Regions from separate parts of the Homo sapiens genome. Here regions 1 and 3 are each linked to region 2. The links are contacts of gene promoters, found by promoter capture Hi-C in human tissues and cell types (Jung and others, 2019). All regions are on one chromosome and are shown on one strand. Each heading gives the region's core, a stretch centred on a gene start or on the middle of the fragment in contact. The rest is flanking DNA. Distances are from core to core; before and after follow the strand shown.

Region 1 (4,570 bases), core at 538-3,037, 180 kb after region 2:
GATGCTCTTTGCAAAAAAAAAAAAAAAAAAAGGAATGCAGAAAACCCAGCCCACCCCCTGAAAATGAGACATAGAGACAAAAAACATGGTTTGAACCTCACTGCTTAGGTTTCCATGGTGGCTCCACTCTGCTGCCCTTCCCATTGGCTAGGTGTCCTGCTCCAGCTTTAGCAACAGAGACTCAGATACTCATCTCCTTCCTGATTGGCCAGGCTGTGCTGCAGTGCCATGGCAACAGAGGCAGGGGGACCAGTCTCTGCAGAACAACTTGAGTCACCATCTACCTGGGGTGGGCTGAGATCCAGAGAACTGCCTGTGGGGGATGGAAAGGGGAACAGGTAGCCCCCACCTAAGCTCACAGTCAGGTGGGAACCTCCCCGCCACCAGTTGCCCAGGGGTTTTGGAGGCTGGCGGGCTTCTCCTCCTCATCTTGTCTACCCTGTATCTTGCAGCTTCTTCCAGCCTTTTCTTGCTCCATGGGTCCTGTCTCCCTCAGAAGAAAAATCACACCACTAGCAGTGCCAGAGTTTAACTCATTCGCCCAAAGTCGTGCAAGTTACTAATAAAGGCCAGGGTTTGAACTCGTATTTATATTGCCTGGTTTAAAGGCTTTAGAGGGGCTTTGCTAGAGAATCCAGGGGTCCTCTCAGTTTTAATATCTATCCCCTTTTTATTCACCAAACAGCAAATGCATTTCAAAGCAGTCTTTCATCTAAATTATCTCATCATCTCAACAACCCTATGAGTTCGGTAAGTCAGAGATTAATGACCCATTTTATAGATGAGGACACTAGAGCCCAGAGAAGGCAAATTATTTGTTCCATGACACACAGCACATTAGTGCCAGAGCCGGGCCTTTAACCCAGGCCTTCTGAATCCTTGTCAGAGGTCTACCTTCCAAACCACTGACCTATCTATACCAGGGGGGTTCCAGGAGGGTTGGAGGCCCTCTGAGGGCTTCTCTGAGTGGTCTCCTCTGTTACAGAAGCCAGTTAGAATCAGGCAGTCCGTTGTGGACCAAGGGTTCATACCATAGCCCTAGTCTCAGCCAGGCAACCCCTCAATGTGACCCTGGTCTCCAGGAAGGGTCTGTTTTTAACTGCAAACCTTGCTCTTCCCCTCAACCCCCATTTGCCAACAGGTGAAGAAGTACTCACAAGCTTACCTGCAATCGGTTTTACTGTTTCTGTGTGCTTGAAGCTGTGCTGGGCATGCATGTTCTCATTGAATTCTCATCACAACCTTAGGAGTTCGGTCTTCACTGTCCACTCCTAATAGATGCAGAAACTGGTGCTCAGGAAGGTCAAGCCGCATCCCCAAGGTCACACAGTCATGGAGACATAATACCAACACAAGTCCACCTAACCTAAAGGAGCCTGGCTTGAACTACGGTGATGCTCTCTCTGTTCCCACAGAATGCAGAATGATAGCTAAAAGAGGCACCTGGAATCACTCCTGTAATCCCAGCAGTTTGGTAGGCTGAGATGGGTGGATCACAAGGTCAGGAGTTCGAGACCAGCCTGACCAACATGGTGAAATCCTGTCTCTACTAAAAATACAAAAATTAGCCAGGAGTGGTGGTGCATGCCTGTAATCCCAGTTACTCAGGAGGCTGAGGCAGGAGAATCCCTTGAACCCGGGAGGCGGAGGTTGCAGTAAGCTGAGATCACGCCACTGCACTCAAGCTTGGGTGACAGAATGAGACTCCGTCTCAAAAAAAAAAAAAAAAAGAAAAGAAAAGAAAAAGGCACCCTGGAGCTGATTCTTTTTCTCTTGGGTATGCATTTTTTCCTCAACTGAAGCTGTGGCTACTGGACCAATTCCTTGGCACTGGAAAAAGCAGACTCTGAGGACTCTGAGGGACTTGGAAATAGTTGGCCCCTGGGAAGTGACTCAGTGTCCCCAACACTCTCTCCCATTGCCCAGTTTCTCAGCTTGGTGATCTTACAGAAGGGCGTGGCTGGGCTGCTGGTAATTTGCAGCTGACCTGGTGGAGAGAAGCCCCAGTAACTTCCTTGGCCTGAATCTAAGCCCCTGCTGAAAATGAACATTTTGGCAGTTTCCTTTTCTTCCTACTCAACTTGGGCTCCCTGAAGCTCTTGCCCCTGAAACACAGCCCAGACACCTGGCCTGCCCTCCTGCCCTCCCAAGGGCACCGGTTTTGGAAGACACAACCAGGCAGGAGTTCCCACCTGCCACGCTGCTCCCCCAAGCACCACAGCAGCAAGGGGCAGGCACACAATCTCTCCATCAACAATTACACAGCTTCTCTGTGCCAGACACCACACACACAGGCTCAAGGGAGATGGTAGGGAACAAACCATTCTGGCCCCTGCCCTCATGGAAACTGCAGCCTCGTGGCGGAAATGCACTGCAGGTCCATAAGTGAATACATCATGGTTTCAGACAGTGATAAATGCCTTGGACAGGATGAAACAGGATAACGGCATAAACAGCAATTGGTGGGGGTTTGAGGGGGGAGGGAAGGGACTGAAGGGGAAGGGAGCAGGCACCTGAATGAGGAGGAGGCAGTTGTCTTGGTTATCTATAGCCACCTAACAAACCCCCAAACCTAGTGGCTTACAACAACCATTTGTTATTTTTTATGAGTCTGGCTGGCCTGAGTGGTTCCTCTGCCCGTTTCTCCTGGTCACACATGCAGCTGCATTCAGCTGGAGTCACAGCTGAGCTGGAAGGTCCAAGAAGGCCTCTCACACACATCTGGTGGTTGGTGCTGGCTGTTGGCTGGGGTGTCTCAGATCCCTATCACGTGGCCTCCCATCCTCCCGCTGGTAGACCAGCTGCCTTATGTGGTGGTCTAGGAGCAGCATTCCAAGAGGGGGAAGGCACAAGCTTGCAAGATCTCTTGCGGCCTAAGCTCCTGAACTCATAAAGGGTCACTTCTGCCACATTCTGTTGTCAGAGCAAGTCACAAGCCCAGCCCAGATCCAAAGGGCAAGGAAAGGGATGCCACTTCTTGATGTGAGGGGAGCAGCAAAGTATTTGTGGCCTTATTTATGAGACATGATCAGCCGGGCGTGGAGGCTCACACCTGTAATCCCAGAACTTTGGGAGGCCAGGGTGGGCAGATCATTTGAGGCCAGGAGTTCAAGACCAGCCTGGCCAACATGGTGAAACTCCATCTTTGTATTTTATAAATTTATAAATGTATACATATTATATTTTATATAAAAAGAGACATGATCCATATTGCAGAGAGTAACAAAAATGATTTCGAGGTGTACCAAAGTTGTGATTAGTATGAAATCTTTTTTTTTTAATTTTTTGAGACAGGGTCTCACTCCATTGCCCACGCTGGAGTACACTGGCACGATCATAGCTCACTGCATCCTCAAGCTCCCAGGCTCAAACAATCCTCCTGCCTTGGCCTCCTGAGTAGGCATGCACCACAACACCAGCAAGACGCTATCTTGCCCTGTTGCCCAGGCAGGACTATAGCAACACAATCATAGTTCACTGCATCCTCAAACTCCTCATCTCAAGCGATCCTCCCACCTGAGCCTCCTGAGTAGCTGGGACTACAGGAGTGTGCCACCCTGCCTGGCTATTTTTTTCTTATTTTTTGTAGCAATGGGGGTCTCACTATGATGCCCAGACTGGTCTTGAACTTATGCCTGGGGCTGTCTTCCTGCCTTGGCCTCCCAAAGTGCTGGGATTACAGGTGTCAGCCACCATGCCTGGCCTATGTGGCCATCTTTAATCTGCGACATCATCCATGTCGAGATCTCTGGGAAGAGTGTTCCGGGCAGAGGAAAAGCACCTGCAAAGACCCTGGGTTAGGATGGCATCCAGAGACCTGAGCCTTGAACAATGGTGTGATGGTTGATACTGAGTGTCAACTTGATTGGACTGAAGAATACAAAGTATTGATCCTGGGTGTGTCTGTGAGAGTGTTGCTAAAGGATATTAACATTTGACTCAGTGGGCTGGGAAAGGCAGACCCACCTTTAACCTGGGTGGGCACCATCTAATCAGCTGCCAGTGCTGCTAGAATGTAAACAGGCAGAAAAAATGTAAAAGAGAGACTGGTCTAGCCTCCCAGCCTACATCTTTCTCATGTGCTGGATGCTTCCTGCCCTCGAACATCGGACTCCAAGTTCCTCAGTTTTGAAACTGGGACTGGCTCTTCTTGCTCCTCAGCCTGCAGACGGCCTATTGTGGGACCTTGTGATCGTGTGAGTTAATATGTAATAAACTCCCCTTTATATATATATATACACACATATATATACATACACCCATATATATACATATATATACACATATACACATATATATATATATGCCATTAATTATGTCCCTCTAGAGAACCCTGGCTAATACAAATGGGTTCCTCTACTCCCTTAGTTTCCTGTCCTGTAAAGTGGGAACTAAGGATGTCTCCCTGGCTCCTTATAGGAATACAGGATGTAAGATGCTTTGCTTCAAGGCTGGGTTAGGATTTTGGTTATTGGCCAGTGGCAGGGAGGAGAGGCCAACACAGGAGCTCAGCTTGGCTTCCCCCAAGCTCACCAGCGTTTGTTGAGCACTGTCTGGCAGGAAGGCACAG
Region 2 (4,581 bases), core at 2,001-4,500:
TGCCTCCCGGGTTCATGCCATTCTCCTGCCTCAGCCTCCCAAGTAGCTGGGACTACAGGTGCCCGCCACCACGCCTGGCTAATTTTTTTATTTTTTTTATTTTTAGTAGAGACGGGGTTTCACTGAGTTAGCCAGGATGGTCTTGATCTCCTGACCTTGTGATCCGCCCGCCTCGGCCTCCCAAAGTGCTGGGATTACAGGTGTGAGCCACCGCGCCTGACCCTCTCCCAGGAGTCTTTTTTTTTTGAGACAGAGTTTCACTCTTGTTTCCCAGGCTGGAGTGCAACAGCATGATCTCGGCTCACCGCAACCTCTGCCTCCCAGGTTCAAGCGATTCTCCTGCCTCAGCCTTCCTAGTAGCTGGGATTACAGGCATGTGCCACCATGCCCACCTAATTTGTTTTGTATTTTTAGTAAAGATGGAGTTTCTCCATGTTGGTCAGGCTGGTCTCAAACTCCCGACCTCAGGTGATCCACCCGCCTCGGCCTCCCAAAGTGCTGGGATTAGAGGCATGAGCCACCGCGCCTGGCCTCTCCCAGCAGTCTTAACTGCTGGTCTCTTCATCAGGAAGCCAGGGTCCCTTATCCTGCTCTCACATACTAGATGCAGAGTCTTGAGTGTGTTAAGTGAAAGTTAAGTGAACTTTCCCGGGCTTGTTTTTCACATGTTCATCAAAATAAGCTCAAAGGGTCTTGTCACCCATAAATATCCTAAGACTCCAAAGAATAACTTTTCTATTTCCCTTTGTTTCAGAAAAGCACACCTACAGACACCAACAATGGTGGTATAGAGCTCCCACTAATCCCCTCTGCAATTACTCAACGGCGTTTGAGGTAATTTAAGAACACTTTACATACAAAAAAAGATGGTAAGCGTTTCTTTAGTGTGCTTTCAGGTAATTTGGCAGTGTTAATTCCTATCCCACCAAAAAAAAAAAAAAACAAAAACAGGAAAACAAACCTACCAGTGAAGGATTAACATTGTTGCTCTCAATCTCATCAGAATACATTTTATAACACTAAAAACCTGACAAAGTGGCAACTTTTAGTCATTCAAACACTCCCCAAAACAAAAGTTCTGGAGGTACAAAATTTACAGCAACAAGCAAAAAAAAAACAGAACATAAAACCGTGTGCCTCAATAATCCCGAATCTGAAAGTCTCCCCTCCCTTTAATTCCAATGCATAGGGGCTGTTAATAACACTAGGCGCTGCCATGCTTGCTTCAGGAACAATACTCACAATAATGACCAGGCCCTCAGAAGCTCACAACACTCTTTTCACCTTGAGAAAGGGGCTTTCTTTTCCAAAGATTCAGACATTGTAGCCATTCCCTCCAAGAGGGAATTTGGAGAATGGGCCTCTTCTTGAGAAACAAAGAAAGAAGAGTTTTTTAATAAAATCCCAAGACAAACCAAAAGTGAGGCAGGGAAGTTCATACACTAAACAGGGCAAGCGCTTCAACATGGAGCGTGCAGAAAATCTCTAAAGCATCAAGGACTATTTCCCATTTCCTCCCTTTAATAACATCCAGAAAAAGGATCCCTGTCTCCACGTAAGGAGTGAAACTGGAAAATGCTCCTGATTTCTACTGACAGAGGCTTCCTGTATAAAAGATTTTCCTCTGTTTTATAAAGGAAAAGGAGAAAAGAAACAATCTGTGTCATTTTCCATATACAAGAGGGAAGAGATCTCTCCTCAAAGGTATAGAGTCTTCATTTTCTTGGGAGAGCAAAAGACAGGAAGAATATGGAATCGCCCACTTGGGGGGGTGGGAAGGATGTGCAGATGGAAGATTTTTTGTCACTACAGTAAGTCAGGGAAGTGGGAGAGGGCATCTCTAACCAGTCAGGAAGAAGTGATACCTTCTGTGGACAAAGGAAGTGCTGGCGTCTGGCATCAGGTCTCACTTTCTCTTAAGAGCACAGACCTGTTTCCAAAAGCTAAGTCTTTTTTTTACTGATTATTTTCAGTGAGGCCCTCTTTGTTAATTTGGGAAAGTATTGAACAGCAGGATCTAAGGGGACTGGAAGTGTCTCTTTCTCTAACCCCTAAGTGGGAGGGAGTCTTCCACTCCAGTGAGAAAGGATGGTTGAACACTTGTGATGGAGGCTGCGAGGGGCATGCATGGAAAAATATGCTTCTCTGTGCAAGATATTAGTTTTCTTTTTTAACAGATTAAGTAATAGTAATAGCAACAGCTTACCAAAAGCTTACTATATAACTAGTATTTACACAAATGCTCCCTTAGCCCGCATGACAATTCTAAGAAAACAGAACCCAAATTGGAGATGGACTGAGATTCAGACAAGTTAAACAAATAGTCAAGGTCACAAAGACGTTAAGTGAGAGACCCAGGTTTGCAACGATTACACTCCAAAAGCCATGCTCTTAATAATGCAAGGGAAAGGAGCTCACTGCACACCAAGAGGCTTAAAGGGAAGAAGAGAAGCGAGGGTCTCTCTGTGGACATCACGAGGGGAGAGGGAGAAAGGTTGATTTCTGATACCATAAAGTAAAATTTCAAGGTCTTCCTCTCCGTATCTTGGGGTACAGGCGAAAAATAAAGGAGGAAGGTAAGTCTCTTTCTTACTGGGAAGAAAGATCCCCTCTGTCACTTTCAGGCAAGTTGGGTCTCACTCTTCACCTGGGTGACGCTGACCAAAGTTGGGGGAAAGGTCTCATTTAGGGGTTATCTTTTACTCCTCCTCAGGATAAGTTCAGAATCCCCCTCGAACCCTGGGAGTGGGTCTCCCTCTGCTGACCAACGGATGAGCGCTAAGAAAGAGCGTACGCCTCCGATAAGGGGCGTCGTCCTCTCCGAGGAGATAAGTTGGGGGATCCCTGTTGTATCGAGGTTGAAGAGGAGTCTCTCTCCCGCGTCGGAGCCATGACTCGGAGAAGCCGCTTTTCTCTAGCGACGCGGGGCCTGGTCTCCTCCCTCTCCCTGGGTCGTTCCGCCGCCCACAGGGCAGCCTTGGTTCCTTTCCGCGCCCCGAGAGGGCGGGGGGCCTGGACTCCCCTTTAGCAGCACCACCCGGCGGAGGGTCCCTTTAGGGCGGAGTGGGGCGGGGCGGCTACGCCCGAAGCCTTCCAGTCCCGGCCTCTTACCCTGAGACCTCCTCCGCGGCCCGCGCTTGCCCAGCCAGCTCAGCCCCTGCAGCTGCAGCCCCGTCGTCGCCAGGTCTACCTGAGCCTACGGAGCCGACAGAGGCCGGGGGCGCTCCGGCCGCCGCCACCTCTTCGTCTCTATGGTCCCCCTGCACTTCCTCATCCGGGGCCCGAGCCAGCCATGCGGACTCGCCCAAATCCCGCCCCCGCACCGCGCGCGCGCACTCCAAGGGAAGGCTCTTCCTGATTCTGACCTCCCGCCCTCTGCTAGCCCCAGCCTCCCTCAACCCCGCCCCTGCGGCTCAAACTCTTAAAGGGAAACACAACTTTTGGTTCTGCTCCTGCTGAGCCACAGGACCCAGTGCCGGCCTTCGCTGCTGTCACCCTGTTCCAGTCCACCGTTTTTCTAGTCTGGACGGCTACAATTCTAAGGGCCTGCCTGCTTCCACTCTGGCAGCCCGAGAGATCTTATTCTACTGGAAAGAGTGTTTTGGGTCATGACACTCCTCTGCTTCTTCTAATCACACTGACCACTAAATAAATGGCACCTCTGCCTCCAGTTGGTTACAGAACCTTGTTTTATTTTCTTCATAGCTTTAACACTAGCTGAAATTTCTATGTCTCATCTCTTTATTGACTTGTTTATCATTTATCTTCCTCCACCTTGTCTGTTTTGTTCATCACTTAATGCTCAGCACCAAGAGCAGTGTCCGGCACAAAACTAGACGCTCAATGGACATTTGAAGGAAGGAAGAAATGTTTATCCAGTGGAAGAATTGAGGTCCAGATAATGAAATCGACTTGCCCCAAATAATACGGCTTTGTGTTAAAAAATAGAAATCGACCAGGCGCGGTGTCTCACGCCTGTAATCCAGCACTTTGGGAGGCGAAAGCGGGAGAAGCACTTCAGCCCAGAAGTTTGAGACCAGCCTGGGCAACATAGTGAGACATCGTTTCTGCCAAAAAACAAACAGCTGGGTCTGGTGATGTGTGCCTGTAATCCCAGCTACTCTGGAGGCTGAGGCAGGAAGATCACTTGAGGCTGGAAGGTTGAGGCTGCAGTGAGCAGTGATAGTGCCACTGCACTCCAGCCTGGATGACACAGCAAGACTCTTTCTCAAAACAAAACAAAAATTGCTCAGGTGTTGATGCACCTGTGCTCCTAGCTACTGGGGAGCCTGAAGCAGGAGGATCGTTTGAGCCCAGGAGTTTGAAGCTGCATTGAGCTATGATGGTGCCCCCACTGCACTCCAGCCTGGGCAACAAAACAAGACACTGTCTCAAAAAAAAAAAAAAAAAAAAAAATTGAATGCTTCAAAGTTTCGTTTCTTTCTTTCTTTTTTTTTTTTTTGAGACGGGGCCACGTTCTGACACCAGGCTGGAGTGCAGTGGTAGGATCTCGGCTCACTGCAACCTCTGCCTCCCAGGTTCAAGAGATTCTCCAGCCTCAGCCTCCTGAGTAGCTGGGAT
Region 3 (4,509 bases), core at 1,584-4,083, 160 kb after region 2:
TTGATTTGCCTCCTCAATGGCTTTGCATCCATTCTCTTCTTCCCAGGCCCTGAGCTGCCACTCAGTCCAGCCTTCCTTTGTCTTTCTCTTAGATCCCCAGGAAAACCTTCTAATTTGTCTCTGCTTTCACTCCACTTGTCAGTCAGTCTTTTTATAAAACCACTGTGATTTTGCCCACCACTTAACTAGAACTTTTTGGTGACTTGAACTTCAAAAATCTTAGATGCAGCCCACATGGTCCTGCACAGTCTGGTCTGGTGGGCTGTTTGTACAGCCACCCTGGCCATCACACAGTCCCTGGAACATCACAAACTCTGCACCAGCTCAGACGCTTTGCACTTGCTGTTCCCTCTGTTCCATCTGCCTGGAACATGCCTCCCTCCATGCCCGCTCTGTCTCACTAACTCCTGGTGGTCAGCCATCAGCTCTTAGCTCAACTGTCACTTCTCCAGAGAAGCAGAGTTGGCCCTGTTACATCCTCCCACAGCACTTTGTACTTCTCCAGCATGGTACTCAACATGTTTACACTCTACCATGGCAGAAGCTTCTTTTTTTTTCTTTCTTTCTTTTTTTTTTTTTTTTTTTTTTGAGACATAGTCCGGCTCTGTCACCCAGGCTGGAATACAGTGGTGCGATCTCAGCTCACTGCAAGCTCCGCCTCCAGGTTCATGCCATTCTCCTGCCTCAGCCTCCCGAGTAGCTGGGACTATAGGCGCCCGCCACCATGCCCGGCTAATTTTTTGTATTTTTAGTAGAGACGGGGTTTCACCGTGTTAGCCAGGATGGTCTCGATCTCTTGACCTTGTGATCCACCCGCCTCGGCCTTCCAAAGTGCTGGGATTACAGGCGTGAGCCACCGTGCCCAGCCAAAGCTTCTCTATTTTGTTCATCTTTTTGTTCCCAAGTGTACATGATAATAGTAGATGTTGGAGAAATGGTTGTTGACTGAATGTATAGTAACTGAATGAACTTTGGATTCCAGGGCTGGGAACTGGATATTTTTTTTTTTTTTTTTTTAGAGACGGAGTCTTCCTCTGTCACCCAGGCTGGAGTGCAGTGGCTCACTGCAGCCTTCGCCTCCGGTTCAAGGTTCAAGCGATTCTCCTGCCTCAGCCTCCTGAGTAACTGGGACTACAGGCGCACATCACCACGCCTGGTTAATTTTTGTATTTTTAGTAGAGATGGGGTTTCACCGTGTTGGCCAGGATGGTCTCGATCCACTGACCTCATGATCCACCCTCCTCGGCCTCCCAAAGTGCTGGGATTACAGGCGTGAGCCACCGCGCCTGGCCTGGGCACTGGATTTTACATCTGAGTCTCCACCTTCCTAGCTAGGCTCCTTAGTTACTTCACAGAACTTGAACTTATTTAGAACTTAAAACGTGGCTATGGATGCTGCATGTAATGATTTTGAGAGAATAGGTTTGTTAATATATGTGAAAGAGCCCTGGATAATTCCTGGAAATGGAGCAGGCCTTTGATAAAAACCTGTTTTCTTTTCCTTTTTCACCTTCCCTTTTCTAAGATATGTAAATCCCCTCATCTATGAAATGGGAAGCTATCTCCTTGGGTGGTTGGAGAATCAGAAGACACATGTAGCTGGGCACGGTCGGCCCACACCTGTAATCCCAACACTTTGGGAGACTGAGATGGGAGGATCACTTGAGCCCAGGAATTTGAGATCAGCCTGAGCAACATAGGAAGACCCCGTCGCTACAAAAAAAATGAATAAATAAAATAAAATAAATAAAAAATTAGCTTGGGGCCGGGTGCAGTGACTCATGCCTGTAATCCTAACACTTTGTGAGGCCGAGGTGGTCGGATCATGTGAGGTCAGGAATTTGATACTATCCTGGCCAACATGATGAAACCCCATCTCTATGAAAAATACAAAAATTAGCCAGGCGTGGTGGTGTGCACCTATAATCCCAGCTACTTGGGAGGCTGAGGCAGGAGAACCATTTGAACCCGGGAGATGGAGGTTGCAGTGAACCGAGATTGTGCTACTGCACTCCAGCCTGGGCGACAGAGCAAGACTCCGTCTAAGAAAAAACAAAAGTTAGCTGGACATGGTGGCTCACACCTGTCATCCCAGCTACGTGAGAGGCTGAGGTGGGAAGGTCGCTTGAACTCAGGAGGTCTGCAATGAGCTGTGATTGCACCACTGCACTCCAGCCTGGGTGACAGAGCAAGACCTTATCTCAAAAAAAAAAGGCCACGTATATGAAAGGTCTTACAAAAAGACAGTAAGCAAATGTCTGCTCTCAAACAGCTGAACAGCTGCTCTCACATTCCTGGATGGGAGTCTCCATTGTGCTCTCAAGCCATTGAGTGATGGTGCTGGACACAGCAAACGCTGGCCTGTTCAGATCACATACGAACTGAACAATCACTTGTGATCCTCAGTGTCCTGTGTGTGAGGCCAAAACTGCCCCTGCAATTGCCCAGCAGAAGGCCCACAGAATGATTTGGTGGAAGAAGGGGCGGCTGGTGCGTTAGGATGCTGGGTCACTCCCCCATCAGAGCGGGACCTCAAACTTTCCTGCCCATGAGCCCCAGTCTCCTTGCTGCCTACTTTCCTGATTCCTCCTCTCTCTGGTGGGCATCTCCTTCCACCCACTTGTCCAAGCCAGAATCTGGTAGTCAAACCCAGTGCCTTCCTCCTCCATCATCCTCCAGTCCTCCCATCCATTCATCCTGTCTCTTAGACTCATCCACCTTTTTGTAGGTACAAAGCTCAGCCCACAGGGAATCTGTGGGTTTGGTCAGACATGGAGGACATGTGCATGCCGATCAGAAGCCTATCACCAGATTATACAGGCCAGGTGCGGTGGCTCACGACTGTAATCCCAGCACTTTGGAAGGCCAAGATCATCTGAAGTCAGGAGTTTGAGACCAGCCTGGCGAACATGGTGAAACCCCATCTCTACTAAAAATACAAAAGTTAGGGCCGGCCACGGTGGCTTACGCCTGTAATTCCAGCACTTTGGGAGGCCAAGGTGGGTGGATCACCTGAGGTCAGGAGTTCGAGACCAGCCTAGCCAACATGGTAAAACCCTGTCTCTACTAAAAATACAAAAGTTAGGGCTGGGCGCAGTGGCTCACACCTGTAATTCCAACACTTTGGGAGGCCAGGGCGGGTGGATCAAGAGGTCAAGAGATCGAGACCATCCTGGCCGACATGGTGAAACCCCATCTCTACTAAAAATACAAAAATTAGCTGGGCGTGGTGGTGCGTGCCTGTAGTCCCAGCTACTCGGGCGGCTGAGGCAGGAGAATTGCTTGAACTCGGGAGGCAGAGGTTGCAGTGAGCTGAGATCACACCACTGCACTCCAGCCTGGGCGATGGAACAAGACTCTGTCTCAAAAAAAAAAAAAAAATTCAAAAACTAGCCAGGCATGGTGGCGGGCGCCTGTAATCTGAGCTACTCAGGAGGCTGAGGCGGGAGAATCACTTGAACCTGGGAGGCAGAGGTTGCAGTGAGCCGAGATCGCATCACTGCACTCCAGCCTGGGCGACAGGGAGACCCTGTCTCAAAAAAAAAAAAGGAAGGGATACATGATGTATGCCAGAGACACTGCGCAAATCTGTGAGGCCTTGCTGAAGCAGATAGCGAATACTGGGAGGGAATGCTGAATAGAAGCCATTTTACAGGCCTCTTCAGTTACCCAGAAAAGTTCAGAAAAACACAGAATAACAATGGTCACTCCATTGAGTGCTTCCTGTGTCCTGGGCAATGTGTCATACACCTTTTCATTGCATGATCTTTGTTGTTGTTGTTGAGACGAGATCTTGCTCTGTTGCCCAGGCTGGAATGCAGTGGCAGAATCTTGGTTCACTGCAACCTCTGCCTCCCAAGTTCAAGCAATTCTCCTGCCTCAGCCTCCCCAGTAGCTGGGACTACAAGGGCATGCCACCACATCCAGCTAATTTTTGTAATTTTAGTAGAGACAGGGTTTCACCATATTGGTCAGTCTGATCTCGGACTTCTGACCTCAAATGATCCACCCACCTCGGCCTCTCAAAGTGCTGGGATTGCAGGCATGGGACACTGCACCTGACTCATTGTATAATCTTATCAACATACCAGCTGAGGGGTGGAAGGCCCCAGGAAGTAGGGTCCACGCCCATACGCTAACAAACAGCTGGACTGGGAATCAGGTTCATGGGAATCAGCCCAGTCACCACCAACTGTGCTGCCCTCTTCACCTTTTTGTGGTGCTGTATCAATGAGATGCCACCCACTGCTCCATCCTGGGTTCCTGCCTGGGGACCCCTTCGTTCCTTTCAACTGACTGCCTTACGTGTATGGTGAATCTCTGCATGGGTACAGATGCAGTGTAACATGTAGACATGGCCTCATATACAGGTTCTCTGGTAGGGAATGGGCAGTGACTCAGTGACTTTGAGGCAGGACCAGTGGCCTTTCCTCCCTGCCAGGCTTCTATCTGGAAGGCACTGTGTGTGCCCTCTCTTCTGGTCTGCAGCTGTGGCTTCAGCCTGCAAGT

The links. Contacts are between HindIII fragments. The study calls those that stand out against the background at their distance.
Region 1: a contact is called between a fragment that was not itself captured here and the fragment with the promoter of PRR14L in region 2, in 4 of the 25 tissues and cell types used here (dorsolateral prefrontal cortex, heart right ventricle, mesenchymal stem cells and 1 more).
Region 3: a contact is called between a fragment that was not itself captured here and the fragment with the promoter of PRR14L in region 2, in 1 of the 25 tissues and cell types used here (aorta).

Annotation. Positions count from the first base shown.
Region 1 is chr22:31,926,998-31,931,567 of GRCh38, forward strand. It overlaps LOC105372998 (a long non-coding RNA gene), which reads right to left and starts at 3,096. Exons shown (of 3, transcript XR_001755494.2): 1 at 1,166-3,096; 2 at 102-313. It overlaps LOC124905102 (a long non-coding RNA gene), which reads left to right and starts at 277. Exons shown (of 2, transcript XR_007068064.1): 1 at 277-365; 2 at 453-587. RefSeq lists a silencer at 113-313. The HindIII fragment of the contact is 3,903 bases long and covers 1-3,739 here.
Region 2 is chr22:31,746,882-31,751,462 of GRCh38, forward strand. It overlaps PRR14L (proline rich 14 like), which reads right to left and starts at 3,251. Exons shown (of 9, transcript NM_173566.3): 1 at 3,112-3,251. RefSeq lists enhancers at 2,261-2,893, 3,133-3,692, 3,182-3,476. The HindIII fragment of the contact is 11,409 bases long and covers 1-4,581 here.
Region 3 is chr22:31,907,854-31,912,362 of GRCh38, forward strand. It overlaps DEPDC5 (DEP domain containing 5, GATOR1 subcomplex subunit), which reads left to right. Exons shown (of 43, transcript NM_001242896.3): 43 at 1-180. Among named protein-coding and RNA genes, the nearest start is that of YWHAH, 34 kb to the right of the region's middle. RefSeq lists an enhancer at 4,316-4,509. The HindIII fragment of the contact is 4,251 bases long and covers 709-4,509 here.